Linked DNA regions of Homo sapiens: regions 2 and 3 are each linked to region 1. Evidence: promoter capture Hi-C in 16 types of primary human blood cells and fetal thymus (Javierre and others, 2016). All regions are on one chromosome and are shown on one strand. Each heading gives the region's core, a stretch centred on a gene start or on the middle of the fragment in contact. The rest is flanking DNA. Distances are from core to core; before and after follow the strand shown. Region 1 holds the start of PGAP1 (post-GPI attachment to proteins inositol deacylase 1). Region 2 holds the start of ORMDL1 (ORMDL sphingolipid biosynthesis regulator 1). Region 3 holds the start of OSGEPL1-AS1 (OSGEPL1 antisense RNA 1).

Region 1 (3,094 bases), core at 385-2,884:
CGACAGAGCAAGACTCAGTCTCAAAACAAACAAAAACGACACGTCTCATACAGGACTTACTTCAATGACATATTACTTAATTGCCCTCCTGATCAGTACCACCTACAGCTCCCCTGTTATCCTGGTCTTTCCAGACTTATCTCCCTACAAAAAAGGAGACTGCTTCCGCATTTTCCCATTTCTGTCTTTCTCCGTCAATACTCCACATTCCGTAGCTAGCTGTGTTTGTTTAGACTTGCAACTGTTTCTGTGCAGGGTAAAGACTATCTTGATTTTCAGGATCACTCCACTTCTTCTTCATAGTTTCGTAATCTGAACATCAGGGTGTTGTACAAGATAAACTATAAGCTTCCTTTTGGTTTTAAAATTCTTTGATTTTATGTATTGTAGCCAAACTTCCTCTGCACAGAAAATATACCAGAAAATCAGCCCAAGTTCAATGAAATTCATTTAGTGCCAAAGACCATTCTAAGAATCCTGTGGTTACTACACACACACGCACACACACACCGTCTACTGTTGAGTCAGCTTTAAAGAGTGATGTCTTTTTCCTAACATTCTAGTGTTTTGAAGCTGCTACAAGTGATTGATTTCGAGCTTTTTTTAAAAACTCCTCCTTTGTACAAAACAGAACCGAAATTCTTCAAAACGAATTAAGTCATTTGCGAGTTTGAATGGAAGCTGGACGAAATTGCCTCCTCCAGTTAACGTGGAACCCATTCCCCAAGAGATGGAGGTTCTGGAGAGCAAGGCGAGTCAGCGTCAAACTGATTACGCAGATACCTGTTGGGGACGTCAGTGCTAATAGATATTTTGGTAACATATTTTAAGGACTAACGATGCTTTTTGTGATTCAGGCTTTCATCTGATACCAAGAGCAGAATCTCGTCGGCTTGCGGGTGTTTTTTTTTTTTTTTTTTTTTTTTTTTTTAATGAGCCGGTGCTTTTAAGCGCTGTTACCTACTGGGCCCAAGTAGGCGGTAGAAGAGGGAAAATAAAGCCATTTGTTCCCTCTTCAAGCTAACTGCTCCAGAGAGCTGTGAGTGTGCTCTACTACCGTTGGGAAAACCGAAATTGCGGAGGCCTGAGTCTTTTCAAAATTGAACGGGAAGCGTTTTTAAACTGCCGCAGGGAGAGGCGTTTGCGAGGTGACAGCTGATGACCCCTGGGCTTTTAAGTCCTCCTCCCCTCTCTCGGTCCGCTCTCGGTCCTTAATCGCCTCTGGACTCTGGGCTCTAGTCCCCTCCCCAGATTCACCCATCTGACACCCGCCTCCTGCCCAATCCCCCGGCTCGTCTCCAGGGCTCCCGCGCTCCGCCCATCCCCCTCTGGATGCTTCCTCTCTCTCTCTTCTTTCCCTCCCGCCAGCCACTCCTCGCGTCTTTCTCTCCCCACTTCCCTTCTTTCCCCTCACCCTCCAGCCCAGCCCACCCTGCTTTCTCCCTCTTTCTCTTTCCCGTAGATCCGCGCTCGCGCTGCAACACCTACTCCTCCCTCGGCTCTGGGAGTCGCCAGGCCAGAGGCGCCGCGGACCTGGTGCGCGCAGGCGCACTGCGCGGCTGGCGAACGGGCAGGCCGGGCATCAGCGCAGGCGCGCGCGGCTGGGGCTCGGCTCCGGGGGTGGCGGTCGGACAGTGTCTAGCACGCTCAGTCCGGGCTTGGGGCCCCGCGGCGGAGAAGGAGGTAGAGGGGGCGGCGGCGGCGGCGGCGGTGGTGGCGGCACCATGTTTCTTCACTCAGTTAATCTCTGGAACCTGGCGTTTTATGTCTTCATGGTCTTTCTGGCAACCCTGGGGCTGTGGGATGTCTTCTTCGGCTTCGAGGAGAATAAGTGCAGTATGAGCTACATGTTTGAGTACCCGGAGTATCAGGTAAGGTTCTGCCCTCTCCTCAGCCGGGCGCTCCAAGACTCTGGCCCCTGGTGCCTTTTTCCTTCTGTGGGTTCGTCCTGCCTTGGCTCTCTGCGCCTCTCGGGCCCCCTGTCCCGTCCTCGCCTCTGTTTTCTCCGCCCGGGGAGACTCTGCATCCCCCTTCTGCCCCCCTCACCTCCCCTTTGTGTCCCTTCTTCACGGTGGGGTGTTTGTTAGACGATTTCCCGAGAGCATCCTCGTGGTCGTCCTCGTAGTTACTCCGCTGTCCCTCCGCCTCCTCCCCAGCCCCAAATCCTGGGCACAAGCTCTTCTGACTGGCCGGGCCCAGCCCCCCTCATGCCCAGAGAGGCAGCCTCAACCCTTCTCCCTAAACCGAAGCTCCATCCCTCTCGCGTTCTTGCCTTAACCCGTGCCCCAGGACCTTCCTTTGCTTCCCACGCGCCTAAATTCCCCTCGCGCCCGGTGATCTGCTCGTCAGATTTCGCATTTCTAGAAAGGGACCGAGCGTCTGCAGAGTGTATATTGGCTAGATAGTTCCCAAGGCTGTTTTTAGAGACTCCAGGGTTTTGCCTATGGGTAAACTGGCGAGTCATTGAATTGGAAACTAGATCCCCTCTTGGAAAGATGTTGCAGATCCTCTTATTTTGCAGGTTAAGGGGCCGTGCGTGTGTGGGCTTGCCTGTGTGTGTGCATACCTGTGTTTATGCATGTCTCTCAGCAGCCGAGCCTCTTAATAGTTGCATACAAAATCTATTTCATGGTGCTATTTTTGTTTTCTCGCTGGGTTCGGAGTTTAAGAGAGAGCCAACCCTTCTCTCTCCACCCCTACCGCTTCCATGCCATTTTGAATGTTTTCAATCAATGGCTTCGTTAGTTCGGCATAGTAGGATCTAGAATTTCATTCATGACTAGCTGTAAAAAGAGGCGCAGACAAATTACACAACTGTCCTAAGAGAATTTTTCCGAATGATTCTTTTATTTCTAAGTGCATCTCTTAATTATGGACTACCTATTGTAATAATTCCCTACCATAAAATGTATATGCACTATAACATATATTGATAAAATACATTTTTAGTATACTCTTAAAATCACAGCAGTTTTTTTTTTAGGGTGAAGGATGCAAGTCCTGATTGCTTCTTTGTACAAGTCATTATGGAGGAAGCCTGTTACTTGATTACGCTGCTATTATTTTGATCTTAAGACTACTTAAGGTTTAAATT
Region 2 (2,834 bases), core at 201-2,700, 7.1 Mb after region 1:
TCTCTCAGCTGACTTCTAATCATCCTTCCAGATTTAGTTCAGTATCAACTCTTCAAGCCTTTCTTCCCTGCTGCAGCCTCCTTTCCTTCACCTGCCAACAGATTAGGTATTCCTTCCCCTGCAGTCCCCCTTTACCTCATTTCTAATTAACCTCATCACAAGTTACTCTATTAATATGTGTTTCTGTCTGTTGCTCCTGACTCAGAGTTCTTTGAGGACAGGGGTTTTATATCAATCACACATCGCTAGCATAGCCCCTGGAATATAGCACTCTATACCATATGTGTACCAAATGGAAGGGTTTATATCGGGCTTACAAATCACAGCAAAGAATGTCTGGGAATATCAGGATAGTCAGTCTTCCATATTTGCTGGGAGGGAAAAGGAACACTTCTGAAGAAGTGCTGATGACCCGGAAAGTCAGTTAAGGACAACAGGTGTGCCTAAAAAAGAAGTAAAGATCAGAGAACTCACAGACTTCCATTAGAGAGAACACAAAGAAATCATTTATTTAAAGATCAGACTAAATCCAAAACAATTAGGTTCACAAAGCCAACAGAAATGCAAGATACAGACATACACAGCCAACATTCTCTTAAGTCAATTTCAAAATGTTGAAAGCTATTTCGGCAATAAAAATCACAAACTTTCTGCACTGCCAAGGTGAGGGAAATTACATTTCAAAGGCGATTCCAAAAAAACCTAATCAAGACTTTCCTCAGGATCAATTTTTGGTATTCACATTTCCTTAGCATGTAATACAGGTGCCTGTCTTCGGCGTACGGATAAACCCAGAAGGCCAAGAGCAAAAATCGTGATTAACTTTAAAGAGTTTAACTTGCACCCCTTGTATGATGCCACAGGATACAATACTATAAACCGCCACTCACACAAGATGAGTTACAGTTGCCATGGGTTAAATCTGCTGCCTGGAAAACAAATTTTAAGTCCTCCACCCAGAAGGGTCTGGGGAATGGGACGCAACAAAGACCAAGCCAGAACACCCCGGAGCCCAGACCTGCTCAGAAAACGCGTTCCACGTGTGCGCGCCCGCAAGCCCGGCTTCGCTTCCCGCCCCGCGGGGAGCGCCCTTAGCTGCCCTATAGCGTTCGCGCCCGGACCAGGACGAGTAGAGGGGACGGGGCCCTCGAGCCATCGAGGATATAATAAATACCCGTTAGTCACACCACACTACCTTCCTGCTAGCGCGAGGCAGGCAATTACCATCCACTAGCCGCAAGCAGCCAGCGTCTCACCCGATGCGCAGGCCCAACCCCGCACCCGCACCCGCACCCAGCACGCACGCGCGCGGCAGAGCGGGTGCAGAGAGCGCGGCACTGAGTCCCGCCTCGCCCGGGGGCAACGTGAGATTGGCGCTGCTCGCAGCCAATCCGCTGGCAGCGAGTCTGTCCGGGAAAGCTTCCGCAAGCTGCGCAGCGCCGGGCCTGAGGGCGTGTATCCGCGGCCGTAGCAGCCGGGCTGGTCCTGCTGCGAGCCGGCGGCCCGGAGTGGGGCGGCGGGTAAGTGGGCACGAACGCGGTGGACGCTGTACAGTCGCCTTCGTCGGTAGGGAACTGCTGGCGGCCTAGGGGTCGTCCTGAGAGGGAAAAGCGGGCTCCGGCTGCATCTGCGGCGCCCTGCGTGGCCGTAAGAGCCAAGTGGCCTCAGAGGCTCGCCCCCTACGCAAATCCTCGTTGTCTTGCCAGGGTCCTGACGTGACGTGCGGCCGCGAGAAGGAAGGGGCGGGTTGGGGGAGGCGCTGAGGTGGTAGCAGCGGCGGCTTTTGCTGAGTTTTCTCTGGCCCAGAGCGCTCGGGCTGTCGGTCTAGCAGGGGGGACTCCCCTGAGGGGCCGCTGCGGGTCGCCGTCTTCGGAGGCACCGGCGAGGGCAGAGCCAACAGCCTCTTCACGGTCTGTAAGGTCATTGTTTGCCAGTCGTGGGCAGCGCGGCAAACCTGCTGGGAAAAGGTTTTCTGGTTGGAATAGGATGAGTACCGCACCAGCTTTGCCTTCCAGCTGAGATGTAAATTTCAGGCCTCCATCCTGTGGAACGTGGGAAAACTATCTTGAGTGTTGGCATGTTCTAAGTATGACATAATAGTTTAATGTATGATAAATCATGGGTGTTTAGACGAAAGATTTACACATATAAATTGGAGGCTTTAGCGGTCTTAGTGTAACTAACTTTTCGTCCCCTTAACCCTTGATGCCTGTTCTATGGGTCTCTAGAGCGGAAGGAGCATTATACTCCGGAAACATTTGCTGGAAGGGGTTATGAGAAATTCCTCTCTGTATGCTAACTCCGTAATACAAGCGTTTGTGTATTTTAAAATCACAGCTGTTCCAAATATAATCTAGCCTCGTTTTCCCCCTCCGTCGGATGATAGGTGTTCTTCAGGACAGTTTTATTTTAAGCAATTCTTAGTCTCAAGTAAACACCATCATTAAAAGAACTGAGAACTATTATCAATTCTTCCTTTGGAGTCCATCTTCAATGGAAAGGAGAAGGGAAAACCTTTTTTAAAAAGAAGAAAGAAAACTGAAGTTTTTGATTTGACTAGAGAAATATTCAGAAGACTCCTTATTTTCACCTAGTTTAATCACAAAATTGAGAAACAAACATTATCCCTTGACCATGTAAATTTTACACCACATTATGTCAACAGCATGTACCTTCCACATTGAGTATTCAGAAAGAAGTGATCTGAACTCTGACCATTCTTTATGGATACATTAAGTCAAATATAAGAGTCTGACTACTTGACACACTGGCTCGGTGAGTTCTGCTTTTTCTTTTTAATATAAATTTATTATGTTGGTAAATTTAGCTTTTGG
Region 3 (2,819 bases), core at 161-2,660, 7.2 Mb after region 1:
TTAATTTTTCTTTTTTCCCTTGTTTAGGCCAACAGTGCACCCTAGAGAAAATGTGAGTTATTTTCTCTTCTAGCAGTTAAGAAAACAGACTCCAGTGCCAGATGTCCTGACTTCTAATCCTAGCTTTGCTTTTCCTAGTTGTGTGACCTCCAAAGCACCCAAACTCTGTGGCCCAGTTGCCTGTAAAATGAGGACAGAAACTATTTCATGGGATTTTGAAAGAAATTAATCTACAGCAGGTGCCTGGTACATAGTGCCACTTTATCATTATTGTTACACATAAATGAAATTTTTGAAAAACATAAGTTCCAAATAAAAAACCTCAACCATATTCTGGTAATTATTTACTTATTTATCTGTATCCACCTCTAGACTGTACTCTGTGGCTTCCCAACATGTTGTTATGGGATTTACTCATCTTTTATACCCAGAGCTTCACAACGTGCAAAGTGCAGGTATATATGCCAGCCCTGTACAACAGTGGATTCTAAGGTCCTTGCTTACTAAAATCTTAAATACCAGCAGGGGAAAAGCCTGACTCTTGGAATAAATCTGTCCAATGTTCAAAACAAAGTTCACAAACCAATAAAAGAAAAAAAAAAAAAAAAGCAGGTGCAAGACTTTGAAAACATACCATGCTGAATTTCATGTACATAGTAAGGAAGGACAACATAATGCATTATGAAAATAGGATGGTTTAAGGCAACTGAATATTTACCACAGCCTTTTTTTTTTTTTTTTTTTTTTTTTTGAGACAGAGTCTCGCTCTGTAGCTCAGGCTGGAGTGCAGTGGCGCGATCTCGGCTCACTGCTACCTCCGCCTCCCGGGTCCCAGTTCAAGCAGTTCTCCTGCCTCAGTCTCCCGATTTTTTTTTTTTTTAATTGTAAAAATAAGCCAGCCCCTTTCTTCCTAGTGAAGTGGGAGAAACGGTTTACACTGTCCGATGAGAAACACTTCCGTTCTTTGGTAACCCTGCTAGGGGGCGCCGCTAGATTCCATCCTATTTCTCCGATGAAAGTATCAGGTACCTCACCCCTAAGTTTAGATTTGATGATAGTTCCCTTAAAAATGAATGACGAATAATCTACCCCATCCTTTTCTCACAGTAGCAACCAAATTCCAGCCAAGGGCAAAAAAAAAATTTCTTTTTAATGTAGCTTAGTGTTTGGAACTTGATGTTGTGTAGTCAGACAAACCTGTATTCGGCCTCCGCTGGATCAGTCACTAGCTGTGTAATTTTACAGAACTCTCATCACCTGCAAATCTGGGGGAAATGCAGGTGCGCACAGAGAGCGTTTTGGGCAAAGACGGCCTTTAAGCTTTTCTTCACTAAGCATGCCGCTCGCTAGCGGAACAGCAGCCAGCTCTGGACGGGACCTTGCACAGTTCCGATGACATCACTTCCGGGCGCCAGGTTCGGGCTTTCTCCTGCAGCGATAAGGGCAGTCGACAGTCTTTAGTAGGGAAAGGAGACAAGTGCTAGCTACTGCCGCCCAAGTGGAAGGTGGGTGAAATTGCTCACTCTTCACCCCACTGACGCTTTTGCGCACCTGGAAAAGCGGTTCCAGTTTGCGCCCGTCGCCGCCTTACAGCCGACAGGAGACCAGCGCTACCCAAGTCACGTGGGTTCAGCCTGCAGCTTTCTTGGCCCGAAAGGGTAGTGCTTCGTACAATCCTCCTTGTCCAGATTTTGTTAATGCAAATCTAATTCCTCTAGGTTGTGTCTGTCTGGGCTGCACTGCCCGCAACTGCCTTCTGCAAATAGGTCGCTCATCTCTAATCCCTGGGATGCCGTGTCCCTTTAGTGTGGTGGAGAAAGGCCCTGCTTTAACACCCAGAAAGTTTTAGAACGGATGATCTGGGGGCATAAAATTAGGTGCTTCGCAGTGTGAAAATACTAGTGTGCTTTAGTGATGGGCTGCTATTATTTTGGGGGAAAAGGATTTGGGAAGATCCTTGTTATGACAAAACCTGTAGCAAAAAGTGGAGATTTAATTCCAAAGATTGCAATTAAGGATAAAATAGGTGTTAGGTTGCAGTTGGCGTGTGTGTGTTTATGTTAACTCTTGTTTTTGAACCAAATGATCCAGTTTTATTTTGAAAGATGTTTTTAGGAGATGGAATACATTAACAGTATTTTTATCTGTTCCATCTGCCTTTGTTGTTTGATTCTTTTTAGAAAATCCACATTTTGTCTTAATTTTAGCTGTCAAAAAATAAATAGCACTTTTCAGAGGACTCTATCAATTATTGTACTTTATATTAGCTGTCTTAATAGTAAGTCTTTTGGTAGGAACAGCATGCAAGTAATAATAATACTAAAAAATTTTATATCTGACCCCTGTTTTCCCCCTTGGAGAACATTATATTCATTCATAATATTATTTATATTCCCATGTTGCTATAGCCTTTACAAACTTTTGGTGACTTTTACAAACTTTCCTGTAATTCTGTAAAACTATATATTGAAAAATAAGCTGGCTAATGTCAGTTGCAAATAATAAGTTGTTTCTGTAATTCTTTTTCAGGAATTATCTATAGAGTAAGTATGCTAATCTTGACTAAGACTGCAGGAGTTTTTTTTAAACCATCAAAAAGGAAAGTTTATGAATTTTTAAGAAGTTTTAATTTTCATCCTGGAACACTATTTCTTCATAAAATAGTATTGGGAATTGAAACTAGTTGTGATGATACAGCAGCTGCTGTGGTGGATGAAACTGGAAATGTGTTGGGAGAAGCAATACATTCCCAAACTGAAGTTCATTTAAAGTAAGTAGACATTATCTTAGTCATTTCCACTTTTTTGGAAAAAGTAAAA

What was found. The method cuts DNA at HindIII sites, captures the fragments that hold promoters and counts their contacts. A CHiCAGO score of 5 or more calls a contact.
Region 2: the fragment with the promoter of ORMDL1 here is called in contact with the fragment with the promoter of PGAP1 in region 1 in 1 of 17 cell types (non-activated CD4 T cells); the score reaches 7.0 in non-activated CD4 T cells.
Region 3: a contact is called between the fragment with the promoter of OSGEPL1-AS1 here and the fragment with the promoter of PGAP1 in region 1, in 1 of 17 cell types (non-activated CD4 T cells). The highest score is 6.3, in non-activated CD4 T cells.

What each region holds. Positions count from the first base shown.
Region 1 is chr2:196,925,247-196,928,340 of GRCh38, reverse strand. PGAP1 (post-GPI attachment to proteins inositol deacylase 1) reads left to right here and starts at 1,634. Exons shown (of 27, transcript NM_024989.4): 1 at 1,634-1,871. The coding sequence starts at 1,725. RefSeq lists a silencer at 1,436-1,685. The HindIII fragment of the contact is 4,012 bases long and covers 351-3,094 here.
Region 2 is chr2:189,782,955-189,785,788 of GRCh38, reverse strand. It overlaps ORMDL1 (ORMDL sphingolipid biosynthesis regulator 1), which reads left to right and starts at 1,450. Exons shown (of 5, transcript NM_016467.5): 1 at 1,450-1,520; 2 at 2,666-2,775. It overlaps PMS1 (PMS1 homolog 1, mismatch repair system component), which reads right to left and starts at 1,339. Exons shown (of 13, transcript NM_000534.5): 1 at 1,196-1,339. RefSeq lists enhancers at 922-971, 1,522-1,751, 1,762-1,821, 1,912-1,991, 1,277-2,163 and a silencer at 1,332-1,381. The HindIII fragment of the contact is 2,480 bases long and covers 1,422-2,834 here.
Region 3 is chr2:189,761,371-189,764,189 of GRCh38, reverse strand. OSGEPL1-AS1 (OSGEPL1 antisense RNA 1) reads right to left here and starts at 1,410. Exons shown (of 2, transcript NR_102429.1): 1 at 1,198-1,410. It overlaps OSGEPL1 (O-sialoglycoprotein endopeptidase like 1), which reads left to right and starts at 1,398. Exons shown (of 9, transcript NM_022353.3): 1 at 1,398-1,505; 2 at 2,530-2,770. The coding sequence starts at 2,550. It also overlaps a transcript of ANKAR not described here and a transcript of ORMDL1 not described here. RefSeq lists enhancers at 723-1,469, 1,756-1,915. The HindIII fragment of the contact is 3,776 bases long and covers 1,323-2,819 here.